Linked DNA regions of Homo sapiens: regions 1, 2, 3 and 4 are each linked to region 5. Evidence: promoter capture Hi-C in 16 types of primary human blood cells and fetal thymus (Javierre and others, 2016). All regions are on one chromosome and are shown on one strand. Each heading gives the region's core, a stretch centred on a gene start or on the middle of the fragment in contact. The rest is flanking DNA. Distances are from core to core; before and after follow the strand shown.

Region 1 (5,572 bases), core at 2,159-4,658, 150 kb before region 5:
AAACTGATTAAGAGTTGGCTGGAATAATATTCATCCAGCTTCAACAACAAAGATAAAGCAGGTATGAGATGGTGACTTAGAACTAAATGTGTGTCATTTAAAAGAATTAAACAGACTTTTTTTTTTTTTTGAGACGGAGTCTCACTCTGTCGCTCAGGCTAGAGTGCAGTGGTGCGATCTTGGCTCACTGCAACCTCTGCCCCAGGTTCAAGGGATTCTCCTGTCCCAGTCTCCCAAGTAGCTGGGATTACAGGCGTCTGCCACCACACCCAGCTAATTTTTGTATTTTTTAGTAGAGGCAGCATTTCACCATGTTGGCAGAGCTGGTCTGGAGCTCCTGACCTCAAGTGAGCCGCCCACCTCGGCCTCCCAAAGTGCTGGGATTACAAGCGTGAGCCACGGGGCCCGGCCCAGAAATTTTGTTAAAAAGAATTAAATGTGTGGGACATCTGTGGATTTGACAGTAGGTTCTTCACCACTTATAGCACATGAAGTCAAGGTGTGGTGACACATTTAAGACTTTCAACAATAAAAATAAAGTGAAAAAAGAGGACACCTTATGCTCAAAACATCAAGGGTAAAAGAGATGGTGCAATCTAGTAACATCACAGAGGTATTCAGAAAATCTGGAAAGCAGTATAAACGTATCAGACTAACACATTAGAAAGTACTACGTTTTCAGAGCAACTAGAAATACGTGATAAGAGGGGAACAGACAGTATTAAAATCAACTTCCGAGGCAAGTAATACAAAAATAAAACATCCCTCTCCCTACACTGGAAGGGAAAAGCTAGAAGCCTACTTTCCGTGAAACTATCAAACCTGAAAAGCAATTTGAGTCTAAACTTTGAGTCCTCTTTATTCTTCCCAAATAATTAAACATTCTGCAGAATAAATCAAAATTCAATACACATACTTTAAATAGATGAAGGAGTAAGACTTAAGGGAGGATTTTATTTGGGCTACCTTGTAGAATAGGACTATCTACAACTTACTCTGTATTTATAGAAACACTTTAATAAGAATACAGAATACTCTTATTCTTTAAGAATACAGGGCCAGGCCCAGTGGCTCACACCTGTAATCCCAGCACTTTGGGAGGCCGTGGCGCATGGATCACCTGAGGTCAGGAGTTCGAGACGAGCCTGGTCAACATGATGAAACCCCGTCTCTACTAAAAATACAAAAAATTAGCTGGGCGTGGTGGCGCGCACCTGTAATCCCAGCTACTCGGGAGGCTGAGGCACGAGAATGTCTTGAACCCAGGAGGCGGAGGTTGCAGTGAGTCGAGATCGCACCATGCACTCCAGCCTGGGTAACAAGAGCGAAAAACTCCGTCTCAAAAAAAAAAAAAGAATACAGAATACAGAAACTCTTTAGTAAACAGATTATTCTTAAGCAGAGGCCACTAATCAACACAATTTTGATTGTACTGCACCCACATGTCTGATACGAGACACTCATTAGAAAAGTATTTTTTCTATGCCAGAGTAAAATTTGTAGTCCTTAACGATAAATCCCTAAAAAGCAAACTAACAAACTTTAGCATTTGAATATCTTCGATGTGTTTTTTTTAAAGGAGTCGACACATTTAAAGTTTCCTTTACACACCTAAACTTTCTGTAAGGATTTTATTATAATTTCTAACAATAAAATTAGTACTACACCACCAATATAATCAACACACGAATACTTGTGTCATTAATTACAATACCAATTATTTAACATGAGAAAAGCCAGCCCTAAAAAGGTGGCTATGAAACCACTGGCATGCACTACTGGAGTGTTAATTCACACACAGGACTTATTAAGCATTTAAATTGCACATTACATTGGCTAAGTGCTTCATAATCATTTTATTAGCGGTTTCTAGTCCAAAGCAACCCATGAAGAACTTTACAGAAGAGGAACCGAGGCCCAGGGAGGAACCAAAGAAAACCAAATTTTACCCTGGAGGAAATAACACCATTCTCTTAAAACGTGCCAGATACTTCTAATCACTTTTCATACGCAATATGAATTTTGTCAAAGTAATTAATTAAAGAATATGAAAAATACCAAGAAAACGTATTGAATTCTGACAAAGCGTCCGACTGCTTAAACAGTTAAATACTTGAGACTGACTACATTTCATCATATAGACACAACTATAAGGAAGTAAAATTCTCCCAAATGACAAACTTAGTGGCTAAATATAAAGGAGTTATTTTTGTTCGCACTTGCAAAAAGCAAACAAACAAAAAAGCGTAATCAAAGAAGCTCAACGAACAAGTTTAAAGTCAGGACCTGTAATAAGGAGTCAGAACCGTTACCAGAAAAAAAGAACCCAGCTCAAGCGATGTAGTAGGGAGGAAGTTATTAAGAAGTCAGAATCTGCTGCTGCTTAACAGGCTCAGCCAGTCCATCTTTCAGAAGATAATAGTTCTAACCAGAACTTGTGGTTTAATCAGTGCATATCTCAGCACCAGCAATGGATCACATCCAGTGTTTCTGAGGGTAACAAAAAACTTGAGCCGGCGCTAGATGGGGAGGAAAGTTCTTTCCTTGCCTCACTTAAACATCAATATGTCTTTTATCTTCGTGTTACATCTTAATGAGAAAGGACTATACTCTCACCCAGAGCACAGCTTCCCTGAGAGCTGTCCTGACCCCAGCCAGGTTCCTCAGTCAGAGCCCATGAACCTAATTCCCTAGTCAGATCTCACCCAGCCAAGAGCCCCAGCCGGTACATCACTCTTCCTCACCCCCTCCCTGCTAACCTCCCAGGCCAATTCCGTGACCTACATCCCTACACCCTGCACAGAGCCCCAAACTCCGCACCCCTCATTGTACTTCCGCCCCACTGACTTCCCAGTTAACCTTCGCCCCAGCCCCCACTCCATCTTTGTCTGGCTACCCCAAACGCGGCACCCCAGCGTTCCCCGACTCCCAACGGCAGCCCCTCCCCCACGCCGCCCCCCACCCTCCCGGCCTCGTCCCTGCCCCCACGCCCCCGGCCGGTCACCCCGGCTCCGCGCCTCCCCGGCTTCACCAGACCCGTCCCCTCCCCCGCTTCCTCCGTCCGCTCGTTCCCCTCCCCGCGGCCCTCCGCCCACGCCCACCCTGCAACAGCGGGCGCTCAGCCGGCCTTTCACCTTGTCCATGAGCTTCCAGCACTTCTCCACCATCTTCTTGTCCACCGTCCCCGGCGGGTGGGGGCTGAGGTGGTGGTGGTGGTGGTGGTGCGGCTGGAAGGCGTCCTTCATGAGCCCAATCAGGCCACCCGAACCCGAGCCCCCGGAGCCGCTGCCGCCCCCGGCCCCAGAGCTCTTCTTCACGTTGCCGGCCATGGCCTGGGCAGGGTCGGAGCCCAGGCGGGTCCGCCGGCTCGGCTCGACTGCGAGCGAGGGAGAGAAGCAGGGCGTGAAGGAGGGGCCTCTCCCGGCCGCCGCCGCCGCCGCCGCCGCCGCCGCCGCCGGCTATCCGGGCGGAGGGAGGAGCGGCCGTGGGGAGGGGAGTGGGCGGCGCCGGGAGTGCGCGGGACGCGCCCCTTCAGAGCGCGCGAGCCCGGGGCGGGCGGGGCGCGTCCCGGAGGCGGACCGGCTTACTGGTAAGCTCGGGGAAGCGGCCGGCCGCGGCCGGACTGGGCAGCGACGATCCCCGGGCCACCGGCTTCGAGCAGCTCGCGTGCCCACAGCTCCCGGAAAGCCGCGGCCAGGTTTCTGTGCCCGTCTTCCCCGCCCCTACGCCGGGGCGGGGCGGGGCCAGGCTGGGGCGGGGTCGGCGGAACCTTTGGGCCTGCGCCCTCTGCTGGAGAAACGGGGAAAGGAGCGGCGGGGGGTTGGGGAGTAGGTCCAAGGTGGAGTCTGCGCAGTAGCCAGAAACCAAGACTTCCATGCTCCTTGTGGGCGGGAGGTTGGCGCTTCTGGGGTGGGTCATGGGAATGTTTAAATTAAGACAGGTGGCGATGGAATGGAAGAGTCCTGATGTCAAGTCTTTCCCCACCCCTGACAAATGAGGAAATCGAGCTTAGAGTTATTTGTTTATTTACACTGTGGGAGGATGGTGGGAGAAAAAGGAAAGTTATTTCTCCACCCCTTATTATTTTCAATTCTTCATTAAGACACGACCAAGGACAGGAATATGAATGCTGCGGCCCATTCCAGCCGGATTAGGCCCCAGAAAGCCTTGAGACACTCAAGCCAGGACCTCTTCTTCCAGGCCCTTTGACCTCTTGAAAAGAAATCACTTCCTTTTTTTATTTTTTATTTTTATTTTTTTGGCTTGTGAAGACTAGTTACGTTTCTGGGAATTGAATCTCAAACATGTATTTAAGATTCTCCTACTCAGAGCATTGCACCACAGGTCGGCGCCGCCAGCATGAGGGCCCCCTCAGAAGCTGACCTGCTGCTGGCTCCGCCCGAGGGGGTTCTCTCTCCCGCCCAGGGAACAGAAATGCTGTTCCTGGTCACTTCCACTTCTCAGTCAATTACACTTCTCTAATGTAAAAGTTCCGTTGGAAGAACTTTGAAAATAGGAACTTCCCTTCCAAAGAGGGAAGTGCCCTGCCCTAATTTACTAATTCTGAGCCTCAGTTTTGGGAGTTTGCAGACCCAGGTGTGTCAGTATCAGTTCCGCCTTCGATCCCCCTCCAGGCTCTTCCACAAAGCCCTTGACAGATTAGGGAGTTAAATTTATCCGGTGCTCCTGTAAAGGGGAAAATATCTTTGAATGCAGGGACCATTCAGACAGGCATCCTGGGTTTGCAATTTAATCGCCTTTATCTAGAATTGATTTTGGAGTCAACATTATAATTTACTATCAGAAGAATTTCCTTTTATCATTTTCCATCCAGGAAGAGAAGAATCTACAAAGGGAAAATCTAGGCAAAGCTCCATCCCTTAGTGCCAACACCTAGTTGCAGGTCCTCCGTTTCTTTTCCCTGGACTATTGAATATTGAAACCTTTTCCTGTGCCTTCAATTCATCCTGCCACCATAGGCTTCCTAAAGTATAGTTCAGACAGCATCGCAAAAAAACTTTAAACACCTCCCATTGCCTCGGGAATAAAATTGACAAGTTGCTCTAACTCCAAGCTAAACAACCTTGTAGTTTTATACTACTCCCTGGTACACATGTCTTATGCTAGCTGACTCACCAAGTCATCAAATACAATTATTTCTTTTTTATTTATTTATTTATTTTATTTTATTTTGAGACAGAGTCTGTCACCCAGGCTGGAGTGCAGTGGCACAATCTTGGCTCACTGCAACTTCTGCCCCCCGAGTAGCTGGGATTACAAGTGCCCGCCACCACACCTGACTAATTTTTGTATTTTTAGTAAAGATGAGATTTCACCATGTTGGCCAAGCTGGTCTTCAACTCCTGACCTGAGGGGATCTGCCCTCCTCAGCCTCCCAAAGTGCTGAGATCATGGGTGTGAGCCACCGCACCTGGCCAATTCTTTCTTTTCTCATCACCGTTACTCAGACTATTCCCTTATTCCATCTGCCTGAAGTATGCTTTAAAATCCAATCCATTCGGCCCAGCACAGTGGCTCACACCTGTAATCCCAGCACTTTGTGAGGCCGAGG
Region 2 (5,508 bases), core at 579-3,078, 250 kb before region 5:
CCGCTTTTCAGGGACCAGTCCACCACCATCTCCTCCACGTTGAGTGAAGCTCATCCCAAGCAAGGAGCCCCAGTCTCCCGAGCGGGTAGGAGAGTTTCTTGCAGAACGTGTTTTTTCTTTACACACATTATGGCTGTAAATACCTGGCTCCTGCCAGCAGCTGAGCTGGGTAGCCTCTCTGAGCTGGTTTCCTGCCCCAAAGGCTGGCTTCCACCATCCAGGTGCACCACTGAAGTGAGGACACACCGGAGCCAGGCGCCTGCTCATGTTGAAGTGCGCTGTTCACACCCGCTCCGGAGAGCACCCCAGCAGCATCCAGAAGCAGCTGCAGTGTTGCTGCCACCACCCTCCTGTCTGCCTCTTCAAAGTCTCCTGTGACATTTTTTCTTTGGTCAGAAGCCAGGAACTGGTGTCATTCCTTAAAAGATACGTGCCGGGGCCAGGTGTGGTGGCTCACGCCTGTAATCCCAGCACTTTGGGAGGCCGAGGCGGGCGGATCACAAAGTCAGGACGAGACCATCCTGGCTAACACGGTGAAACCCTGTCTCTACTAAAAATACAAAAAAAAATTAGCTAGGCGTAGTGGTTGGCACCTATAGTCCCAGCTACTCGGAAGGCTGAAGCAGGAGAATGGTATGAATCCAGGAGGTGGAGCTTGCAGTGAGCCGAGACCGTGCCACTGCACTCCAGCCTGGGCAACACAGCGAGACTCCGTCTCGAGGAAAAAAAAAGAAAAGATACGTGCCTGCGGTGAGGAAGCTGGGCGCTGTTTTCGAGTTCAGGTGAATTAGCCTCAATCCCCCGTGTTCACTTGGCTCCCATAGCCCTCTTGATGGATCACGTAAAACTGAAAGGCAGCGGGGAGCAGACAAAGATGAGGTCTACACTGTCCTTCATGGGGATTAAAGCTATGGTTATATTAGCACCAAACTTCTACAAACCAAGCTCAGGGCCCCAACCCTAGAAGGGCCCAAATGAGAGAATGGTACTTAGGGATGGAAAACGGGCCTGGCTAGAGCTTCGGGTGTGTGTGTCTGTCTGTGTGTATGCATACATATGTGTGTATATATGGTTTTGTCAGGTGTGTAAATTTGCAAATTGTTTCCTTTATATATGTATGTATATATATATATGAAAATATATATATATATGAAAAATAAAGCTTAATTGTCCCAGAAATCATACATTGCTTTTTATTCATCATGGGTACCACAGGAACCTGGGGGCCTGTGAAACTACAACCAAAAGGCACACAAAACCGTTTCCAGTTGGCAGCAGAGATCAGGGGTTACCTCTGCTTCTGAGCAAATGGCTCAAGTTCTACCAGAGCAGACAGTCACCCTACTTTTCAGCAGCAAAACTGCCCTGATGACGCAGCACGAAGGGCCTGGCAGGCTGTTAGCAGGAGCTATGTCCCCTTCCTATGCTTTCCTGCCACTTGGAACTGCCCTCCAGACAGCAGCTCAGGCTCACCGCCATGAGGAAGGGGGCCTTGGCATTTGGTCCTACGGCAACTCGAGTATTGCCTCCCAACCCCCTGAATGAGCAAGAACTCAAGTCTGCTACAACAAAAGAAACTTTATTTAAAAATATTTTTTTACAGACATGGGTGCTTGAAAAAGCTCTTTAGTTAACTAACTGTGTATGGAAATGAAAAAAAATTAATAAATAACATTAGTAAAACAGACTTCTAAACATTAATACACTGGCAAAATAAAATGGACTTAAAATGAAAATGAATCTTAAAGCTCTGCTATTCTCTGTAAGAATATTTACCTTCTGTTTTTCTTATTCTTTACAGGTGAGAATGATTAAATACTGCTAATATAAATTTTTTATATTAATGACACATTTTTAAAATAGTCCACGAAAATCTCACCTATGTGTTTGTTTTGTTTTCTTCTTAACACTGATATACAAATTGGGACTCTTCATTCTGGAGAAAGCATCAGGTTCTCTCCAGCACTCCCAGGCTAAGAATTTCAAAATCTTGAATAAGGAGGACTTTAAAATTTCTGTCTCCCAATTCTTTATTAGTTAAAGGCAGGGGAAAACTGAGGAAAGGGTAAAAGATAAGTAAGATGTCATTATATAGAAAAACTTTTGCTAAAGCTCACTATAGTCACATTACTGAGGACAGGCTTCTGGTCCCATGTTCCTTGCTGCCCTTCCCTGGGGAAACCAGGCCCTGCAGAGGGCACTAGCTGCTTAATGCTTTAAGTCTGAAGCCTTCAAATGAAAGGCCAGCCACATCTGATGGGGGCTGGGGGGTGGGGGCAGGAGGTCTAGACCAGTTCAGGATCCAGCAAAAAGAAAAGACAAAGCCACCAACCTCCCCTTCTCAGGAGAGTCCATCCTATACTCCTCGACACAACTAGGTAATTAATGTCATCAGAAGGCTAGGACACTTGGAATGGTCCAGAGTTTACCTGGGAATTGTGAAACATTCTGTCTTTTGCAGGAGACAAGGCATGCAACCTGATAACTAAGCTTGTGATTGGAACCAACCAAATGATCCCAGGGTACAATGCTTCTCTCCTCCACTGAAGTCTCACAGCAGGGGAAAGGGACTCCAGACACACTGCACCTGCATGTCACCTCTCCAGTCACAGAGAGCATTCTTTCCTGTCTCCTAGACACTAAGGACTAATGAAACTCAAGGTAGAGGAGCTCAGACTCTGGTATTTCCATATTAAGTCCTAAAATGCAGCCTGGGATACAGTGCTGCCTTAGAAAGGCACAAAACATTTGGCTTTTTTTTTTTTTCAGTGTGCTAAAAATTGTTTTGTTTTGAGTAAAGGAAAAAGATATATAAGGTTAAAAATCCCAAGTCACCACAGCCAGAAAACAGACGTAGGAGGTGCCTCATAGCTGCCATGCCCCTACCACATGTGTCAGCAGGAAGTCAGGCTTTTCTTTCAAGGCCAAGACACTAGAACAGTGCTGAGCAGGGTAGGTCAGGAGGCATTTACTCTCATGGGCATTGCGTTGCAGGCTCACTCACCCAGACAGCAGGAGAAACAGGCCATGGAAGACAACACGTGGTCTACAGACTCATAAGTAGTTCTCTGCCTCTCCAGTTTTAAGATGGCCATAAGCATGGCCACCCTCACCCACAAGAAGGTCAGAGGTAGGTAGAGAGGAGGGAGCTGACACACAGGCACCCAGGACACCCTGCTTCAGGGCTCAGCATGGAGGTGGCACAAGGCCTGAGGAGTTGCACATAGCACGCATTGAGCAATACTCCTCTCTGGCCTCCTGTCTGATTTAGGGGCAGAAGGAGAATGTAGGAGAGGCAATGTTGGTGGGGAGGGGGCGGGGCCTGACATTCATTTTTGGGACTGAATCAGGCAATCAGGACTCTGCTGATTTCTTCAGCTGCCAAATCAGGAGATCTGAGGTTGGCTTTTGGGCTTTGCTCTGTACAAACACAGGGAGTGGTCGGCTGCATTTTTCTCAAGCTCTGTACCCAGGAAGGGGCGGCAAGAGCACCACACAGCTTAGTCTGTCTGTCAACAGCCGGCCCTTCCACCCGTGCTCCCCACCTGACTCGCCATGGACATGCGGGGCTTGCTCTCCCCATCCCTATTTCCCCATCTCCTACTCTTTTGCTACTTTCCAGAACCAAGAAATACTGGTATTTCCCACTGGAACCAACCCAGATTTCCTGGGACACAGTGAAGGCACATGGCACTGCTGTCCCTCTGCTGCTTAACTCAGGAGCCTAGTCTACAACATCAAAGGCAAAGTCTGATGACCCACCCTTCCTCCCTTGATGGACATCTTTGGATTATTAGGTAACTTCTGTGTGTATCAAATGACTCTAGTAGTTTAAAAAACTTTTAAGTAAGGCAGTATGAAATACCTTACAACTCAGGACAGGCTCTGAGATGAGAGAAATATAAGATCAAAAGATTTAGGCAAGCAAAAGCATAGTTTTAAAAAAAAACAGAAAAGGAAAGCTTTTATATAGGACTAAAATGAAAGCAATTGCCAGAGAAGACACAGGTATACTGTCTAAAGAGCTCTCGGTAAAAACTCTATCCTAAACTGGAATCTATATTTAATTTCTATCCTGGCAACTGCTCCAATATTATATATTCTTACTGGCTCTGGCAAAGTAGTTTCTGAGGTGCCTAGGAAGGCTTGCCTGAGAACATTACTGCAGAGCGGCCCTCACACAGGAAGGAGCGAGAGGGTGAGGAGGAGAGTGGAGGAGACAGGCCACAAGCCCAGAGAATGAACATTTTCAAGCACTCAAACCTGAAGAGGACCCAGAAGTCCATGGATAGTGGCTACAGTGGAACCCGTTATTAGATTCTGCTCTCTAAATAAACACGGAAGAAGGCAAAAGACCTGAGGCTGAATGGAGGCTAAGGAAGGCTACCCAGGAACAGGCTAGCTCTGGAACAGGACAGGCTGGCCCACAAGAGGGAGGGAAGAAATCTTGGATGCGAAGACTGACAAAGGGAAGAAAAACAGGAAATAAAGAAGACAATGACCAGAATTAAGTTAAACCTAAGAATTTCTATGATGTCCCAGACAAACTCCTGTGCCTTCCTGTCCACTAAGCAAAAAGGCAGGAGTAGTGGCTTTACTTCTTGAGTAGAAGCCTTTTTAGGGTGTCTGTGGAGTCTCTGCTCACTTCTCTGAGAAGCTCCCTGTCTCCAGCTGAAGGAGCCTGCCACATCTCTGCTCTCCCTGGCAAGGCCAACTGCTCAGAGATAGATACTTGATCAATGTGCTGGGCTGAGTGTAGTTTTTTTTAAGAATACGAAGTATGGGCCGGGCGCGGTGGCTCACGCCTGTAATCTTAGCACTTTGGGAGGCCGAGGTGGGTGGATCATGAGGGTCAGGAGTTCAAGACCAGCCTAGCCAAGACGGTGAAACCCTGTCTCTACTAAAAATATGAACATTAGCTGGGCATGGTGGCAGGCGCCTGTAATCCCAGCTACTCGGGAGGTTGAGGCAGAGAACTGCTTGAACCTGGGAGGCAGAGGTTGTGGTGAGTTGAGACTGCACCACTGCACTCCAGCCTGGGCGACACAGCGAGACTCCATCTCAAAAAAAAAAAAAATTAAGTATGGGAAATTGAGAATTTGTTCATGGTGATCCCCAGAGTTGGAAGGTGGTGTAGACTTGAGGACTAGAGTGCCTATTTGGGGGCCACATATACCATAAGCAGACTGTGAAGCGGGAGAAAGGACTAGGTGCAAAGCTCTGCAGTTCCAGCTCCACCCAAGAACCAAAGGCACTTCCCGTCCTGGGTTCTGCGAAATACCCTGCATCCTTACCACAACTCCACTCCCTCCTTTATTCCGCTTGAACATTTCTGTTTCTTGGATCCAAAGAATCCCTAAGCAGTCAAAAATATAACCTTGACCGTCCTTCACTATCCACCACCCTCTAGGCATTAAGCCGTTCTATGTATTTCCAACAAAACACTGCTCATGGAGACTGAGTTCAAAGGAGTGATAGTAATAGTTTATGCTGAGTTACAGTATTTTA
Region 3 (5,868 bases), core at 58-2,557, 230 kb before region 5:
CCAGACTGAACGTGCTTCCGAGCCTAGGCACATCTGGTCTGGGCTCCATTTGTGAGGGCAATGAAAATGGAAGTGAGTGCCGGTTGGTTAATTCTCTTCCTGTCCAGGGATCACTGGAACTTGGGGCAGATACTGGTACTTTGGGGATTGGCCGGGGCAGCCATGAGTCTCCAAGGCGGCTAGAGGGGACAGGGGGCAGTTTGTCTCTGGAGGGACAGTCGCCTGGTGTACAAGGCAAGGGGCGTCTTTGAGGTCGGGATTCTGCTCCAACAGAATATGGCCGGTCTGGAGGCGGTGGTGGTGGAAGATCTCGAAGTGTGGGAGGTACTGGCAATGGTTTGTCTTTATGAAGGGAGCCAGAAGCAGCCTGTGGAAGCAGGGTGAAAGCAAATCAGTAAAAACCCACTAGTACACAGCAAAGAATCCAAAAACTGCAGTAATGGAAAATGCTTTACCTTAGAAGCAGTTCCAAGAGCAGAAGCACTTGAGGGAACACATACTCGCTGCGGCAGAAGGTCAAGTCGTGGTGGCACCGGGGGAAGGGAAGCTTGTGGGGCCATGGAGAATGGAGAAGGCGGCCGTTCCACCTAGGGTACATAAAAAATTTAACAGATTACTTTCGTTTGGGGAAATGGCATCTTTCAACTCTCCTAAAGCTGTGGATGGCAAATACCATGGGAACACTTAAACTACAAATGGGCCAGACCTAGGTTTGAGGTCGCACACACCCTCTTAAAAAACTTCCAGAGACTCTAGCACTTCCTGAATAATTTTTGTGTCACCATAAGAGGGCACTCTCAATCACAGAAACACCATACCCATGGCAAGCTACAGGTAATCTATCTAGAAAGGACAGGGCTACAAAAAGTTTCCTAGTTTACAACTTTAAAAATTACAACAGTTTTCTACCCCCTCATCTTTGGAGAAAGAAAAAAATCTTTTCAAGATTAAAAATAGGAATCCATATAAAAAGTAAGGGGCAGGCCATGCACAGTGGCCCACACCTGTAATACTAACATTTTGGGAGGCAGGAGTTCGAGACCAGTATGGGCAACATAATGAGACCCCATCTCTACAAAAAATAAAATAAAAAATTAGCTGGGCCATGGTGGCACACAGCTATTTGGGAGGCTAAAACAGGAAGACTGCTTGAGCCTAGGAGTTTGAGACTGCAGTGAACCATAATCTAGCCACTGTACTCCAGCCTGGGCAACAGAGCAAGAGCCTGTCTCGACAAAAATAAAATAAAAAAAAAGGATGGCAGTGGGGCGGGGGGTGCAGATATTAACCTCTTAACAAAGTACCTGGGAAAACAATGTTTAAGGGACATAATAAAGAAAGAGATCGATGACGGTGAATTCTCTATGGGTTATTAAGGTAAGAAAGAAGATGAGAGTCGGTACAGTGGCTCACACCTGTAATCCTGCATTTGGGGAGGCAGGAGGATTGCTTGAGGCCAGGAGTTCAAGACCAGCCTTGTCAACATAGTGAGATCCCTCTAAAAAATTTTAACTAAAAATTTTTTTAAGGTGAATTTGTAAAGAAAAATGATCAAGAATATCACTAAAAAGCATCTTGAGTCCTTCCAAAGAAATAAATTATTTCAATTCAATAATTAAGGCCAGGCGTGGTGGCTCACGCCTGTAATCGCAGCACTTTGGGAGGCTGAGGCGGGTGGATCACGAGGTCAGGAGATCGAGACCATCTTGGCTAACACGGTGAAACCCCGTCTCTACTAAAAATACAAAAAATTAGCCAGGTGTGGTGGCGGGCGCCTGTAGTCCCAGCTATTCAGGAGGCTGAGGCAGGAGAATGGCATGAACCCGGGAGGCGGAGCTTGCAGTGAGCCGAGATAGCGCCACTGCACTCCAGCCTGGGCAAAAGAGCAAGACTCCATCTCAAAAAAAAAAAAAAAAAAAAAAAAAAAAAAGAAAGAATTAAAAAGGATTAATATTTTCTGTCAATTTGAGCTCTAAAAAATGAGGTACCAAATTAGAAGAAAGAACACATATATAACCTTTTCCATTTCCCTGCCTATAGCAGGCTTAGGAATAGCTGATAAGCTTGTCAAAGTAAGCTGTCAAGAGATACACAGTAATTCATTAAAAAAAAAATGCTACTCTGCATTTAAATTCCCCAACAGCAAAGCAACACTGACAGAAAAACAGCCATATTTAGTCATGTTATTAGTGCTGGGTGGTGGATGACAGAAAAGCTCTCATCTTTAACTCTTTGCTTTATCCACATGCTTAAGATAACGGGTTCCCAATTAGCTGACAATGCAGCATGAGCAGCTAAACAGCTCAATGACAAAAGTCAAAGTTACTAGTCAAGCCTCCTCTCACTTCATCATAATTATTTTGTCAGTAGCTATATCCTGCTGATTTTTCCCTAAAAGATTCTCATACCTGTATATTTCATTTCATTCTACTTACCAACCCCAGACCTTACTTATTTATGGGAGACAGGGTCTTGCTCTGTAGCCCAGGCTGGACTGCAGTGGCACAAACATGGTGCACTGCAGCCTTGACCTCCTGGGCTCAAGCCATCCTCCTGCCTCAGCCTCTCAAGTAGCTGGGACAAGCTGTGCGCCACCACATGTGGCTTTTTTTTTTTTGGGGCGCGGGGAAGGCACGGGTAGACGGGGTCTTGTCATGTTGCCCAGGGTGGACTCAAACCTCTGGGCTAAAGTGATCCTCCTTGCCTTGGCCTCCCAAAGGGCTGGCATTACAGGCGTGAGCCACCGCGGGTGGCCGTGATTTATTAAAACAACCTAGTGAACTTCCCAACTTGTAGTTTATCTCACCACATCCTTCTGCTTACCACTATCAGCTTAGCCATTCTTAAACACTCACCAACTCAAAAACCACCAGTAACTCCCAATTTGCCCTGTTACAAAATCTCACCCTCCTGCCCAGCTTTCACAAGTCTTTCTAATCTGGTCTCTGCAACCAAAGAAAGGTATTTCCCACAACTCCCTAACAAGCATCAACGCTGCTCTATTCAGGCTCATCTCCTCAGTGTTTCCTGCACATTCTAATGATTATTTCGACTTCCGTATCATTCTTTAAATCCTTTCCCCATTCTGGAAGGCCCTCTCTGCCGATCATCAATCTTTCTCTCATTCCTTAGGCACAGAGGGTTGAACTAATCATATTTTTACATTCATGTCTCAACATCATAATGGATCCTTGCAATAGTCTTTTTTTTTTTTTTTGAGATGGAGTCTCACTCTTGTTGCCCAGGCTGGAGTGAAATAGTGCGATCTCAGCTCGCTGCAACCTCTGCCTCCCAGGTTCAAGCCATTCTCTGGCCTCAGCCTCCCAAGTAACTGGGATTATAGGCATGCGCCACCATGCCTGGCTAATTTTCGTATTTTTAGTAGAGACAGGGTTTCACCACACTGGCCAGGCTGGTATGGAACTTCTGATCTCAGGTGATCTGCCCGCTTCGGCCTCCCAAAGTGCTGGGATTACACGCATGAGCCACCGCACCCGGCCGCAATATTCTTTTATCATAGCATATAAGGCTCCAGAAAAGGTGGAACCTTTATAAATTTATAAATGGAAAATAAGTGATCAGAGAAATACAAACATTTCCAAGACTTCAAGACTTAAAGGACATAAATATCCAAATAGAAAGGGTTTATTACATACCTAGCTCAATGAAAGAAAGGAAACCCACAACAAACAAACCAAAAATACCCTTACAATTTTCATCAAATCAAGGATGAGGAAAATATCTTAAAAGCTTCTGGTGGGCCAGGTGCAGTGGCTCACACCTGTAATCCCAGCACTGTGGGAGGCCGAGGCAGGCGGATCACAAGGTCAGGAGATCAAGACCATCCTGGCTAACATGGTGAAACCCTGTTTCTACTAAAAATACAAAAAAAAATTAGCCAGGCGTGGTGGCAGGCGCCTGTAGTCCCAGCTACTCAGGAGGCTGAGGCAGGAGAATGGTGTGAACCCGGGAGGCAGAGGTTGCAGTGAGCCGAGATTGCACCACTGCACTCCAGCCTGGGTGACAGAGCAAGATTCTGTCTCAAAAAAAAAAAAAAAAAAGGCTTTTGGTGACAGAGGGAAAGGAAGCGCTGAAAAGCAAAAATACATTAGAAGCTAGAAGTCAGTGAAGCCTTAACAATTTAGAGCAGAATATTTATTAATCTAGAATTCTGTAACTAGTCAATTCACGTTTGAGGGTTGAATAAAGGCATTTTAAGATACCAAAGATCTCAAGAAGTTTATCTCTCACCCTTTCACAGAAAGCTACTTTAAGGACATAAACAAAGAAGCAAAAAAGAGGAAAACATGGGAACCAAGGTACTCCAACAGAGGAGAGGCAATGAAGTCCCATGAGGATGGCGAGGGGACACCTCAGGGTGACAAGTAGTGTGGCACAGGAGTAACTGGAGCAGACTGGAGCGGAACACAGATGACTCCTATTTCCTACAAAGCAGTACACGGTATCACATACTACTATACTAACAGATTTTATTTCATAGAAACTATATTGAGAGGATGTTTGAGAGTATGATATGATTTGGTAGTGACAGGTACAAACTGAAAACTAAGAAAATAAAAATAATTATACCAGGAAAAGCAGAAAGTTGTATAAGAAAGCAAAAGTAATTATTGTATAGTATGTTACTTGGCACAGTAAGGAGTGAAATCATGTAAACACTAGTACTAAGCCAAATTCAAATAACTGTAGTGGGAGGATATGGAGTAGGGAGGAGGGAGATATAAGAGACCTAAACCCTCTCCCACAACATCTGAGGTGAAGAGATCAAGAATCCAGAAAAAGCAGTATAAGCACATGGTTAAGAAACACAGAGGTAGTAAACAGTTTCAAGAATTAAAACTCTGAACGAGGGGACAGAGAGGTGCTGGAGGGGGCAGAGGCAGGGAACCAATGTTTTTGTAAGTTTTTTTTAGCAATTCTTTTAAACCTTAAAAAAAATCCATGTGCATTCACCAACTATAAGTAGATTCAGTATATTAAAAAAAATCAAAATAAAACAACAAACAACATCTACCAGGATGTGAAGAAACAGGCATTCTCATTCTTTTCCATACCTTCAAGAGTGATTTCAAGACCAAAAAAGGGGGATAAACTTTAATAACTAACCAAAAGTTAAATATTTTCACTCAAATTATTTTACTCATACAAAATATATAATGAACTATAAAGTACAAGGAATAAAACATCCATATACTTACCTACCATCCAGCTAAAAAACAAAATACCATTATCACTGTGATATTCCCATAAGCCCCTCTGTTAATTATAACCTCCCCTCTATCACAGTTGAAATACACACTCCCTTATGCAGCAATCCCACTGCTAGCCTAGACAGACTTGTAAAAGCAGGCCAATATACGTAAGCCTGCAAACAATATGAATGTTCATTAAAAGGAAGACAAAATAAATTATGGAATGGCCAAATGACAAAATACATGAGGCTGGTTTTTTTTCTGTTTACATTTCTACATGGCTAGGGAAAGTGTGTTCCTTTACTTCTTTCCTCTAAACTCCTATCCGACTTATAGTGTACCCAACAATTTGGAACAATGTTCACTGTCTGCCTTGTGTTGAAGTGTTTCACCTGCACATATGTCCTTTTCCTAAATAAAACAATTAGCTCCTTGAAAGCCTTGTCTTAGACTTCTTATCCCATATAGCACTCAACCATCTAGCACAACAAACACTTTGAAAAAGTAATATGCATTAATTGTAAAAAATTCAAATATTCCACAGAATTTAAGTGCTCTGAATTCCTATCCTCAGAAATAACAGTGATTAGTTTGGTATGTAGTCATCCAGTTTTTCTACGTATATGCTTAAAAAAATTTTTTTACAGAAATAAGT
Region 4 (5,820 bases), core at 2,374-4,873, 130 kb before region 5:
GTCATTCTGTCCCCCAACAGGATACCCGTTCACTTCCAGAATCACGTCTCCCACTTGCAGCCCAGCCCGGGCAGCTGAGCCTCCTGGAGTCACCTGGTGTTGTGGGGGCATGCAGAACAGGGGACACCGGGGGAAAGTTTGCTGGCTTTAGGCTCTGGGAGGGAAGCAGAGGAAGACCGATCAGGCAGCAAAGGATCGAAGGGATTCAAGATCCATGGGGCATCAGTCACCTGGGAGATGAAGAGACGAGGCCCACTGGCCACACAACTGAGTCGGAAGCCATAGCTGCCACCAGGCCCAGGGTACAGGAAGCACTGTCGGGAGCCAAGAGGGACAGAAGGCACGCTTGTGTCTTCAAGTGAAGGGTCCTCTGTCTCAACCAGTGAGGCTGAGCTGCTGCCCCGGGGCGAGGCGGGAGCCTCTGTGTTCTCCAAGAAGAGGAGTGGGGACAGGCGAACCTGGAAGGTGGCAGGGAGAGCAAATCTTTCGGACCTCAGCCCTGCCCCACTCCTGCCCCAACCCTAGCCCCTGCCCCTCAGCACGCACCATGCTGAAGAAGCGGTCCGCCTCAGGGTCGACGACAGTGAGGGAGACACAGGAGCCCTGCCCCTGGATCCTGGACACTGTCTCCTCATGGCCCAGCCCCTCCACGCTCTCCCCAGCCACAGCCACCAGCCGGTCCCCAGCCTGCATCCCAGCCTTCTTGGCTGGCAGTCCCGGGTCCACCTCCCACAGGAACTGTCCTGGGGCATAGACATCCTCACTGCTCCTCTCCAGCTATCCTAGGCCACTGTGTACACACCAGGGGACTGACCCCAGAGTGAACGGGAAGAGGCGGCCCAGGGCCAGAGCTCAGACAGGGACACCTCTTCGGTGCACTGAAAGGTGTATATACGCTTGTGTGCCCACCCCAAGGCCCACCTTCCCCCACCGCCCCCAGGGCTCCCACTCACCAGGGCGACCGTCAAGGCCCTTTTCCTCCCGGAGCAGGAACCCAAAACCCTGGGGCCCTTTCTCCAGGTGCAGGCAGCGGGGCTTGGTGGGCAGTGCCCAGCCCTCTGCCAGGGGTGCAGCCAGGGGCAATCCCAGCTGGCGACACTGTTCTTCCACCTCTGGCCCTGCCACCAGCAAGGTCACCTGCTGTCCACTCTGCCAAAGCTGTGGGGACCCAGCAGGGCATCAGTATAACACCTGGGCAGGGAGAGAAGAGGTATGCTCCCCCCACAGCCCCTCCTCCCAGGCACTAAGTGGAGCCTGGCACAAACTGTAGAGGGGGAGGATGGTGATAAAGGTAGGAGACCAGATAAGGAGGTTAGGCGCATGGGGAAGGAGGCGTCTTCCCGAGGTGGGGCCCAGGCCCGGATTGGGGGAGGAGAGTGGGAGACAGGCAGTCACACCTTCCTGGTGAGTTGGTTGTGAGTGAACTTCTCCACACTGACCCCATTCACTTCCAGCAGCCGGGCCCCGGGGGGCACCCCTGCCCGCTCAGCTGCTCCTCCAGTACTTAGCACCAACCAGAAAGGACCCTGATTGCCTAGAAATTAAAAAAAAAAGCAAGGTCCAGTCTGTTTCCTGCCTGCCCTGAACAGGGGCTGAGATCCCTCATCCTTGCCGCCCCCTCGCACCCTCTGGGCTCACCATGGGTGACACTGAAGCCAAAACCACCCTCATCTTTCACTATGTGGCACAGCCGGGGCCGGACCCCTGGGCCTAGGGTGGGACAGAGGTGGGCATCTTCTCCCAGCTGAGCTCGGGCCACGTCATGTGCATGCCGTGCCAATACTGTCAGCAACACCCGAGGGCTGCTGGCCCGGATGCGGCGTACCACCTGGACAGAGGGCACGTGGGCGTGGGTTTGGTCTAGACCCTCTTGCCAACCCCCAGGACCTCCCTGGAATCCACATTTTTTTGCCAAGGGAATCGGCTTTTTTTCTTTTTCTTTTTTTTTTTTTTTTTTGAGATGGAGTTTTGCTCTTGTCGCCCAGGTTGGAGTGCAATGGTGCGATCTCAGCTCACCGCAACCTCCGCCTCCCATGTTCAAGTGATTCTCCTGCCTCAGCCCTCCCGAGTAGCTGGGATTACAGGCGCCTGCCACCACGCCCAGCTAATTTCTGTATTTTTAGTAGAGACAGGGTCTTGCCATGTTGGCCAGGCTGGTCTTGAACTCCTGACCTTGGGTGATCCACCTGCCTTGGCCTCCCAAAGTGCTGGGATTACAGGCGTGAGCCACTGCGCCCAGCGGGAATCGGCTTTCTAGATGCTTTCCCTACCCCTCTGACTTGGGCACTTCTAAATCCTGGGGTGTGGGGGAGTGAGGCTTGTGCCCTGCTGCCATACTGCCCAGGGGACTGAGCAACCCGCTTCTCTTTCTGAGGTGCTAGCATGCTCTCCTGGACCACAGCCTTACCACCGCATAGTCTTCGTGTTCCACAACATCATTGTTCACCGCCAGGATCCTGTCTCCTTCCTGAAGACCCTGGCGCTGGGCAGAGGTGCCTGGGTCCACCCTGCACACCACATGCCCAGCCCTGCCCAGCTCCTGCTGCAGGTGGAAGCCAAAACTCTTGCCCTCCTCTTTGCTCAGTAAACAGAAGCGAGGCCGCTCCAGGCTCCAGGGATCTGGAGGGTGAGGTGGGCAGCAGAAAAGGGGGAGGAGAGGGCACAGCCCAAGTACAGGTTCGCCGTGTGCCTGGCAGACCCTGTGTCCTGATAGGGTGCTGGGCAGTTTCTGCCTGGTTGGGTGTTGGGTGGTGGGGTTCGTGGGCAGAGGGACTGGGACAGGAGAAAACACCCGGCCCCTCCTATCTCTACTCCCAACCAAGGCTGTTATCAGAGGGAGACCGAGTGAGTGGTTACCAAGGAGATCGGAGGCCGTGTGGAGCCGTGGTGCCTCCAGGGATAGGGAATGGTTGCCAGGGGGTGAGGGAGTTACCATAGGGGTCGTGGTCTTCGGCCAGGGAGAGGACAGGATTATCAATGCCCAGCTTTGGGTTAAACTTAAACTTCCTGCAAGGAGGCAGGGGAAGCAGGTACAAGCTGGCAGCTGGACTTGGGTCCCAGGATCTCCTTTAGGTGCTAATGGCAGTGAAGCGCTTCGCTGCCTCCAATTATTTCCTCCCCTTGCCCCAACCCTCGTGGCACTTACAGAGTTAACGAGGCTGTGTCCTGCAGATCTACTGGGCAAAGAAGTGGGTGAGAGGAGGAGAGTCACATTCTTCTCCCCAGATGTGCCTCTTCCATTGGCATAAACTAAAAGGACTCAGGGAAACCCCCAAACTCAGGGCATGCCCCCTCCTTTCTGCTCCAAAGGGGTCTTCTCTTCTCACTGCCATACACACAGGACTATTGTGCGGTCCCCTCCCTTTCTCTCCCCCCAAGTCCTTGGCACATAAATCTGAGCATATCAGTACAGGGTGTGGACCAGGAAGACAGACATATCAACTCATTACTTTTCTCCTGACTTGTTTACCTGCCTCAGGGCTCCAAGCCCCAAAATCAAGTGTGCCCTGGTCCCAAAGCTTCAGCCTCCAAGTCGGCCCCCTGCCTGTCCCAAAGTCCCCTGCAGAGGATTTCTCCTGGCCTCCTACCTGCGGCTTTCTCCATAGCTGGATCAGCAACCCAGTGCCCGGGGTAGGGACAAGGTTCATCACAGCCACTGATCCTCCCACCCATCCCCTCCCAGGTCCCGCCTCCTTGAAGACGCTGTGGAAGCAGTGGGGTAATGGTTAACGGGAGTGAGAGTCTTTTTTTTTTTTTTTTTTTTTTTTTTTTTTTGAGACCGAGTTTAGCTCTTGTTGCCCAGGCTGGAGTGCAATGGCATGATCTTGGCTCATCATAACCTCTGCCTCCCAGGTTCAAGCAATTCTCCTGCCTCAGCCTCCCGAGTAGCTGGGATTACAGGCATGCACCACCACACCTGGCTAATTTTGTATTTTTAGTAGAGATGGGGTTTCTCCATATTAGTCAGGCTGGTCTCAAACTCCCCACCTCAGGTGATCTGCCCTCATCGGCCTCCCAAAGTGCTGGGATTACAGGCGTCAGCCACCGTGCCCCGCTGAGAGTCTTATCCTCTGGAAAACTGTGTGGGTTCCTCCTGAATCTATCCCTGGGCCCCAACTTTTTCTGGAGACCCTGAATCTGACCCAGTTGCCCCTCTGTGCAGAGAAAGGCAGATTGCTGGTCACTAACTCCAAGCCTGGGGGGTAAGTGTGAAAAGGGTGATAATTCTATGGCCCATAGTATGGTTTGGCTGTGTCCCTACCCAAATCTCATCTTGAATTGCAGCTCCCATAACTCCCTCGTGTCATGGGAGGTACCCGGTGGGAGGTAATTAAATCACAGGGGCAGGTTTTCCCGTGCTGTTTTCATGATAGTGAATAAGTCTCATGAGATTTGATGGTTTTATAAAGGGGAGTTCCCCGGCACACACTCTCTTGCCTGCTGCTATGTAAGATGTGACTTTGCTCCTCATTTGCCTTCTGCCACGATTGTGAGGCCTCCCCAGCTATGTGGAACTGTGAGTCAATTAAACCTCTTTCGTTTATAAATTTTTTTTTTGACAGAGTTTCACTCTTGTTCTCCAGGCTGGAGTGCAGTGGCACTATCTCGGCTCACGGCAACCTCCACCTCCTGGGTTCAAGCAATACTCTTGCTTCAGCCTCTCGAGTAGCTGGGATTACAAGCATGTGCCATCACACCCAGCTAATTTTGTATTTTTAGTAGAGACGAGGTCTATCCATGTCGGTCAGGCTGGTCTCAAACTCCTGACCTCAGGTGATCCGCTCACCTCGGCCTCCCAAAGTGCTGGGATTACGGGCGTGAGTCACCATGCCCAGCCTCCTTTATAAATTACTTACCCTGTCTTGGGTATGTCTTTATTAGCAGCGTGAGACTGGACTAATACAGCCCAGCATGGCCAACCCCCATGCCAATATCTTGTTCATGGGCCCTTCCAGCCTCCACTGCCTCTGAACCTAGTGCCCAAGAACCACTTGCAATAGATCATGGTTGGTAGTTTAACCAGAAAGACCAAGAACAGTGCCCTTTCTTGGAAGCACCAGGCAGTAAAGAAGAGGCCACAATTGGTAGAAGGCACACGGCTTTTTAATAGCAGCAAGTCAGGTGCATCTGCCTCGAGGGGCTACCAAGCCATCATACCATTGTGGCAAAGGGGGCATGAGGATGAGGAGAAAGCACCAATGTGAGGGCATCCTCGGTGTCCACAGGTGAGCATAAGGCAGGAGGGGAAGCTTCCAACACATCTGGATGGCGACACCCCTGGCATGGCAGACATAAGATGTGAGCCCCTTGGTGACACAGTCAGAGGCTCTTTGAGAGGAGGGGGAGGCAAGGTTGGTAGTGGTGCTTCAGGGCACTCTGGCCATCCAAATGCCACATGCTTTGGTCCTTCTAGCTGAATGGAGAGGAGGCATGTTCCATCTCCAAGCCCGAAGCATTGATTCACCATCTTTAACTTGGAGATTCCAGACTCAGTCCTGGTCAAACATGCCCTAGGAGGGCAACTGGCTCAGCTATGCCCATTCCTCTGCCTCCAGACCTGAAGGAATCTTTCTAGAGGGAGCAGTGCAAGCCAGGAGGCCACAGAGGGAAAAGGTTTAGGGCCAGTGGTCACATAGCTAGGTGCCTGCCGCCAGTGTCTCAGCTTCCAGAGCTTCCCAGCTGCTCCAGGAGGGCCCTGACCTCGCCCTCCACTCGCAGCAGCTGGGCCTTGCGCCAAGGATTAAGGGTGGCACCCCGGCTATCTTCCAGATCCCGCAGTAGGAGCTCAAGGTGTCGCTGAACCCGGGCCCGATCCCAGCT
Region 5 (5,727 bases), core at 418-2,917:
GTGCAAGATGTGCTTTGTTAAACAGATGCTTGAAGGCAGCATGCTCGTTAGGAGTCATCACCACTCCCTAATCTCAAGTACCCAGGGACACAAACACTGCGGAAGGCCGCAGGGTCCTCTGCCTAGGAAAGCCAGAGACCTTTGTTCACTTGTTTATCTGCTGACCTTCCCTCCACTATTGTCCTATGACCCTGCCAAATCCCCCTCTGCCAGAAACACCCAAGAATGATCAATAAAAAAAAAAAAAAAAAAAAAAGGAAGAATAGACTCTCTCTGGGACTGCCAATAATTTTTCCTTCTAAGCATAGACACCGGACCACTCTCCACCTAAGCATCACGAAAAATGTAGAGAAAGGAAGAGCTAAGAGCTCCTTAAACAAGTTCAGGCTTGACACAACCCTGGCCCTGACAGCCAGGGTCTTCAAGCGGGCCTTTCTGTGAAGGGTGGCCAGGCATCAACTTAGTAGGAGAGAAAACAGATGACTTATTTCCATCCACACTTAAGGAAAATGCAGTCTCCAAGGACTGCGTACATTTCTTTTTCGAGAAGGAGTCTCGCTGTTGTCGCCCAGGCTGGAGTGCAGTGGCGCAGTCTGGGCTCACAGCAACCTCTGCCTCCCGGATTCAAGCAATTCTCCTGCCTCAGCCTCGTGAGTAGCTGGGATTACAGGCACCCGCCACCACGCCTGGCTAATTTTTGTAGTTTTGGTAGAGACGGGGTTTCACCATGTTGGCCAGGCTGGTCTCGAACTCCTGACCTCCAGTGATTCGCCCGCCTTGGCCTCCCAAAATGCTGGGATTACAGGCGTGAGCCACCGCGCCCGGGCGACTGCGCACATTTCTATGGAGCTGTAAGTTAAAAGAGAAGGCAGTGAGGTGCTTCTGTCATTCTATGACAGAAACAGCTAAAGAGTAGAGAAATGTTCACAAGATTTAATAGAACAGAAATAGGAGAAGGTGCACACAAGCTCAACCAACTATAGCCTCACAAATAAAAGTGTCTTTTGTGTGTAGTACTTAAGTTTGGAATATTCTTTCTTATACAAATGAGTGGGGCTTAACCTAAGAAATCCTGGCCAGATTCTGCGACGAATGCATCGGTTATCTCTGACCCATCAGCAAACATCTTTTTCTGTGGCTTCAGTTTCCTCAGTAAAACAGAGGGGGTTGCGACGGACTCAGTCCGAGGGACAGCCATTCTCCAACGTCTATCCAAAGCCTAGGGCACCTCAATACTAACCGGCAGGCCAGCGCCCCCTCCGCGGGGCTGCGGACAGGACGCCTGTTATTCCATTCCTCGGCCGGGCTCTACAGGTGACCGGAAGAAGAGCCCCGAGTGCGGGACTGCAGTGCGCCCGACCTGCTCTAGGCGCAGGTCACTCCCGAACCCCGGCAGCAAAGCATCCAGCGCCGGAAAAGGTCCCGCGGTCGCCCCGGGGCCGGCGCTGGGGAGGAAGGAGTGGAGCGCGCTGGCCCCGTGACGTGGTCCAATCCCAGGCCGACGCCGGCTGCTTCTGCCCAACCGGTGGCTGGTCCCCTCCGCCGCCCCATTACAAGGCTGGCAAAGGGAGGGGGCGGGGCCTGGGACGTGGTCCAATGAGTACGCGCGCCGGGGCGGCGGGGGCGGGGCCGGGCGCGCAGCGCAGGGCCGGGCGGCCGAGGCTCCAATGAGCGCGCGCCGCGTCCGGGGCCGGCTGGTGCGCGAGACGCCGCCGAGAGGTTGGTGGCTAATGTAACAGTTTGCAAACCGAGAGGAGTTGTGAAGGGCGCGGGTGGGGGGCGCTGCCGGCCTCGTGGGTACGTTCGTGCCGCGTCTGTCCCAGAGCTGGGGCCGCAGGAGCGGAGGCAAGAGGTAGCGGGGGTGGATGGAGGTGCGGGCCGGCCACCCCTCCTAGGGGAGACAGCGTGCGAGCTCCGGGGGCGGGTCGGGAGCGCAAGGGAGGGCCGCGCGGACGCCGGGCGCTCGGCCTCGCACCGGGGGGCACGCAGCTCGGCCCCCGGTCTGTCCCCACTTGCTGGGGCGGGCCGGGATCCGTTTCCGGGAGTGGGAGCCGCCGCCTTCGTCAGGTGGGGTTTAGGTGAACACCGGGTAACGGCTACCCGCCGGGCGGGGAACCTTACCGCCCCTGGCACTGCGTCTGTGGGCACAGCGGGGCCGGGGAGTGAGCTGGGAAAGGGGAGGGGGCGGGACAACCCGCAGGGATGCCGAGGAGGAGATAGGCCTTTCCTTCATCCTAGCTACCCCCAACGTCATTACCTTTCTCTTCCCGTCCAGGCCCAGCTGGCTTTCCCCGTCAGCGGGGGAGCTCCAGGTGTGGGGAGGTGGTTGAGCCCTGGGCGGGGATCCCTGGCCGCACCCCAGGTGTCTGACAACAGGCACAGTGCTGCGGTGCGCCACTCACTGCCTGTGTGGTGGACAAAAGGCTCGGGTCTCCTTTCTCTTGTCCTGTTAGCTTCTCTGTTTAGGGATGTGGCAAAGCCGAGGACCCATGCTCTTTCACTTGGGCCTTTGTGTGGGCGCTGCTGGGATGATTAGAGAATGGTTTGTACCCATCAGGAGGGAGAAGGGGAGAAGTAGGCTGATCTGCCCTGGGTAAGAATGAAGTAGATATGAATCTTACAGCCTCTCCGTTCTGGGATGTGATTCTGTCTCCTTCACTCCGGGTATCCAGTTTTAAGTGTTTTCTTTCTTCGCCTCCCCCAGGGGCACTATGGCAGACAAAGTTAGGAGGCAGAGGCCGAGGAGGCGAGTCTGTTGGGCCTTGGTGGCTGTGCTCTTGGCAGACCTGTTGGCACTGAGTGGTATGTACCCCAGTAGAGGGAGCAAATGGATAAATGATGACTGAAGGATGCATGATGGGAATTGAGCTTGGGGCTGTTGGCCAGAAGTCTCTTGAGTTGTTAGGTCCAGGCCTTTTTGTCTTTTGCCATCTTCGTTTACCCATGGAAAGTGGTATGCTTTGATTAGAGGGAGTCCCAGGAAGGTGGGCGAAGGGAGAGCTAACTGACAAACCTCTTTTCCCTTCAGATACACTGGCAGTGATGTCTGTGGACCTGGGCAGTGAGTCCATGAAGGTGGCCATTGTCAAACCTGGAGTGCCCATGGAAATTGTCTTGAATAAGTGAGGGTGGCCCCCGTGTTAAGGGTGGGGAACGAGGGAGTCTGGGCTCCAAGTGTGAATGTGTTAGTCATAGTGCCCACAGCAGACTTCGGCATCTGAGTGGTTAAATGTGTGTGAGTGTCGAGGCTTCTGAGTCCTTCTGCTGCAGGCACCTGGGCCCAAAATCTCTTTTCCTCAGGGAATCTCGGAGGAAAACACCGGTGATCGTGACCCTGAAAGAAAATGAAAGATTCTTTGGAGACAGTGCAGCAAGCATGGTGAGCTAGCAGTCCCTCTTCCCAGAGTGGTGGGCAGAGGAGAGGAGATGGCAGCCCCCAGAGTCTGTTTCCTTATCAGTCTCTGTGATGTAAGAGGTAGGTAATGGTGGACTTGGGAGCCTAATACTAGTCTGCTCCTTCTTCACCCCTCAGGCGATTAAGAATCCAAAGGCTACGCTACGTTACTTCCAGCACCTCCTGGGGAAGCAGGCAGATAACCCCCATGTAGCTCTTTACCAGGCCCGCTTCCCGGAGCACGAGCTGACTTTCGACCCACAGAGGCAGACTGTGCACTTTCAGATCAGCTCGTGAGTGCTCTGTTGGGGAAGGTGGTCTCGGCAACGCTGCTGGGCTCCTCATTGGTGTGTGTTCCTGATTGTCCTGCCTTAATGCCTGGCTTTCCTTGGCTCCAACTACCTTCCTTCCCCTCAGGCAGCTGCAGTTCTCACCTGAGGAAGTGTTGGGCATGGTTCTCAATTATTCTCGTTCTCTAGCTGAAGATTTTGCAGGTGAGTGGTCAAGGTGGGGCCCTTAGGGCCAGGCTCCCCAGGATCTAGGGCAGTGATTCTCCAACAGGGGCAAGTTTGCCTCCCAGGGAACATTTAGCAACATCTGAAGATAGATTTTGGTTGTCACATCTGAGGGGTGCACCTGCTATCTAGTGGGTAGAGGCCGGGGATGCTGCTCAACATCCTACAGTGCACAGGACAGCCCCACAACACAGAATTACCTAGTCCAAAATGTCATTAGTGACCAGATTAGAAGCCCTCATCTAAGGTATGGAGCCGGCGGGACCCTTTTCTGTTGTCATCTGTAGAGCAGCCCATCAAGGATGCAGTGATCACCGTGCCAGTCTTCTTCAACCAGGCCGAGCGCCGAGCTGTGCTGCAGGCTGCTCGTATGGCTGGCCTCAAAGTGCTGCAGCTCATCAATGACAACACCGCCACTGCCCTCAGCTATGGTGTCTTCCGCCGGAAAGATATTAACACCACTGCCCAGGTGAGCCAGGGGAGCCTTGACCAGACATGCAGGGTGACTGAATCTAAGGATGGAGGCCACTTGGTCCCTTTTGCATCTGGTTTGCATGGCTGGGCTGACCCTTGGCAAAATGCACCAATAGCCTCCTCCCAGCCCCTGTTGGAGCTGTTTAGTTTTGTGTTAAGAGTCAGACAGCCCATTGGAAGCAGGTGGGTGGGCAGGCAGGCCCCCTGGAGTTTGAGAAGGTTCCTGTGACAGTTGCCTTGATATCTCTACAGAATATCATGTTCTATGACATGGGCTCAGGCAGCACCGTATGCACCATTGTGACCTACCAGATGGTGAAGACTAAGGAAGCTGGGATGCAGCCACAGCTGCAGATCCGGGGAGTAGGGTAAGTGGATACTTGGCAGGGAGGGCTGCTTGTGAAGACCCTCAAGTCAGGGGTTTCTTCTTGGAGGAGACACACTGCTTTGCTTTCCTGCATGCTGCAGGAATGGTCTCCTGATTGAGGCATCAGTCATTGTAGGGGACCACTCACAAAGAGTAAGGGGAAGCTGAGGCTCAGGGGAGGACAGTTTGGGAAAACTGGAAGACATGGAACTTTCAAAATGTATTCTAAGGAAATCCATGGAGCCGCAGGCAATATGTAGGGTGTCAGATTCAATCATGTTTTTGTTCTCTTGTCATTTCCAGTTAAATAATTTACCATTCTTGTTGTCTTACCTCTTTTTAAATTTTTTTTTATGGCCTGTGACATAGCCCTCAGGAGATCCTGAGAACATGTGCCCTGTTGTCTTATTTCTTGAAATCATCTTTTTCCGTCTTCACCATTACCACCCAGCCCAAGTTACCATCACCTCTTATTTGCAGAATTAAAAACATCTCCCTGTTCCTAGTGACGTCTCCTTTCAGTTCTTTCTTCATATTGCAGCCAGAGGGTTCTTCTTAAAATCCAACCTAATCATTACCTGTTTCTTTAAAAACCTGTCGCTGGCTCCATAACTTTCCCTGTGCCTGTCTCAACCCTGCCTTCTGCAGCCTGTCTGAGCCCTGAGCCCTCTCGCTTTTTGAGCCCCAGTGATGCTTGCCCTCCTCCGGAACTTGCCATGCACTCTCCCACTTCAAGGTCTTTATGAACGTTGTTGCCTCTGTCTAGAATGTTCTTTCCCCTCCAGCTAGTGAACTCTGAACTCTTCAGTTCAAGTGATGCTTGCACTGAACTCATCCTTCAGGTTTCAGTTCAAGCATCACTTTTTAGGAGACATGTTCTTGGGTCTCCCTCAGTAGCCTGAATCTCCCCCCATGCATGTTCTGCAGGCATTGTCCCCTCACCTTTACAACATGTGACGTAGTGATAATTTCACATT

The links. Contacts are between HindIII fragments. The CHiCAGO score rates a contact against its expected background, and 5 or more counts as called.
Region 1: the fragment with the promoter of CBL here is called in contact with the fragment with the promoter of HYOU1 in region 5 in 2 of 17 cell types (neutrophils and total CD4 T cells); the score reaches 7.1 in neutrophils.
Region 2: a fragment that was not itself captured here is called in contact with the fragment with the promoter of HYOU1 in region 5 in 2 of 17 cell types (total CD4 T cells and fetal thymus); the score reaches 6.0 in total CD4 T cells.
Region 3: a contact is called between a fragment that was not itself captured here and the fragment with the promoter of HYOU1 in region 5, in 2 of 17 cell types (non-activated CD4 T cells and total CD4 T cells). The highest score is 5.3, in non-activated CD4 T cells.
Region 4: the fragment with the promoter of NHERF4 here is called in contact with the fragment with the promoter of HYOU1 in region 5 in 4 of 17 cell types (total CD4 T cells, neutrophils, naive CD8 T cells and 1 more); the score reaches 7.3 in total CD4 T cells.

What each region holds. Positions count from the first base shown.
Region 1 is chr11:119,204,175-119,209,746 of GRCh38, reverse strand. CBL (Cbl proto-oncogene) reads right to left here and starts at 3,408. Exons shown (of 16, transcript NM_005188.4): 1 at 3,135-3,408. The coding sequence starts at 3,329. RefSeq lists silencers at 2,891-2,950, 3,141-3,330, 3,401-3,790, 3,831-3,900. The HindIII fragment of the contact is 20,442 bases long and covers 1-5,572 here.
Region 2 is chr11:119,304,200-119,309,707 of GRCh38, reverse strand. It overlaps CBL (Cbl proto-oncogene), which reads right to left. Exons shown (of 16, transcript NM_005188.4): 16 at 1,559-5,508. It overlaps MCAM (melanoma cell adhesion molecule), which reads left to right. Exons shown (of 16, transcript NM_006500.3): 16 at 1-1,179. Among named protein-coding and RNA genes, the nearest start is that of MIR6756, 6.1 kb to the left of the region's middle. RefSeq lists an enhancer at 2,475-3,220. The HindIII fragment of the contact is 1,328 bases long and covers 1,165-2,492 here.
Region 3 is chr11:119,279,688-119,285,555 of GRCh38, reverse strand. It overlaps CBL (Cbl proto-oncogene), which reads right to left. Exons shown (of 16, transcript NM_005188.4): 10 at 456-587; 11 at 1-367. Among named protein-coding and RNA genes, the nearest start is that of MIR6756, 30 kb to the left of the region's middle. The HindIII fragment of the contact is 1,516 bases long and covers 550-2,065 here.
Region 4 is chr11:119,183,278-119,189,097 of GRCh38, reverse strand. NHERF4 (NHERF family PDZ scaffold protein 4) reads right to left here and starts at 3,623. Exons shown (of 11, transcript NM_001168468.2): 1 at 3,588-3,623; 2 at 3,146-3,173; 3 at 2,933-3,006; 4 at 2,408-2,619; 5 at 1,639-1,828; 6 at 1,398-1,534; 7 at 954-1,158; 8 at 547-743; 9 at 231-458; 10 at 1-93. The coding sequence starts at 3,603. NLRX1 (NLR family member X1) reads right to left here. Exons shown (of 10, transcript NM_001282144.2): 10 at 5,082-5,820. The coding sequence ends at 5,659. The HindIII fragment of the contact is 1,731 bases long and covers 3,521-5,251 here.
Region 5 is chr11:119,053,145-119,058,871 of GRCh38, reverse strand. HYOU1 (hypoxia up-regulated 1) reads left to right here and starts at 1,667. Exons shown (of 26, transcript NM_006389.5): 1 at 1,667-1,852; 2 at 2,705-2,802; 3 at 3,029-3,122; 4 at 3,301-3,379; 5 at 3,533-3,687; 6 at 3,812-3,888; 7 at 4,197-4,378; 8 at 4,636-4,751. The coding sequence starts at 2,712. RefSeq lists enhancers at 1,160-1,209, 1,569-2,068, 2,069-2,569 and silencers at 1,440-1,719, 1,810-2,089. The HindIII fragment of the contact is 24,437 bases long and covers 1-5,727 here.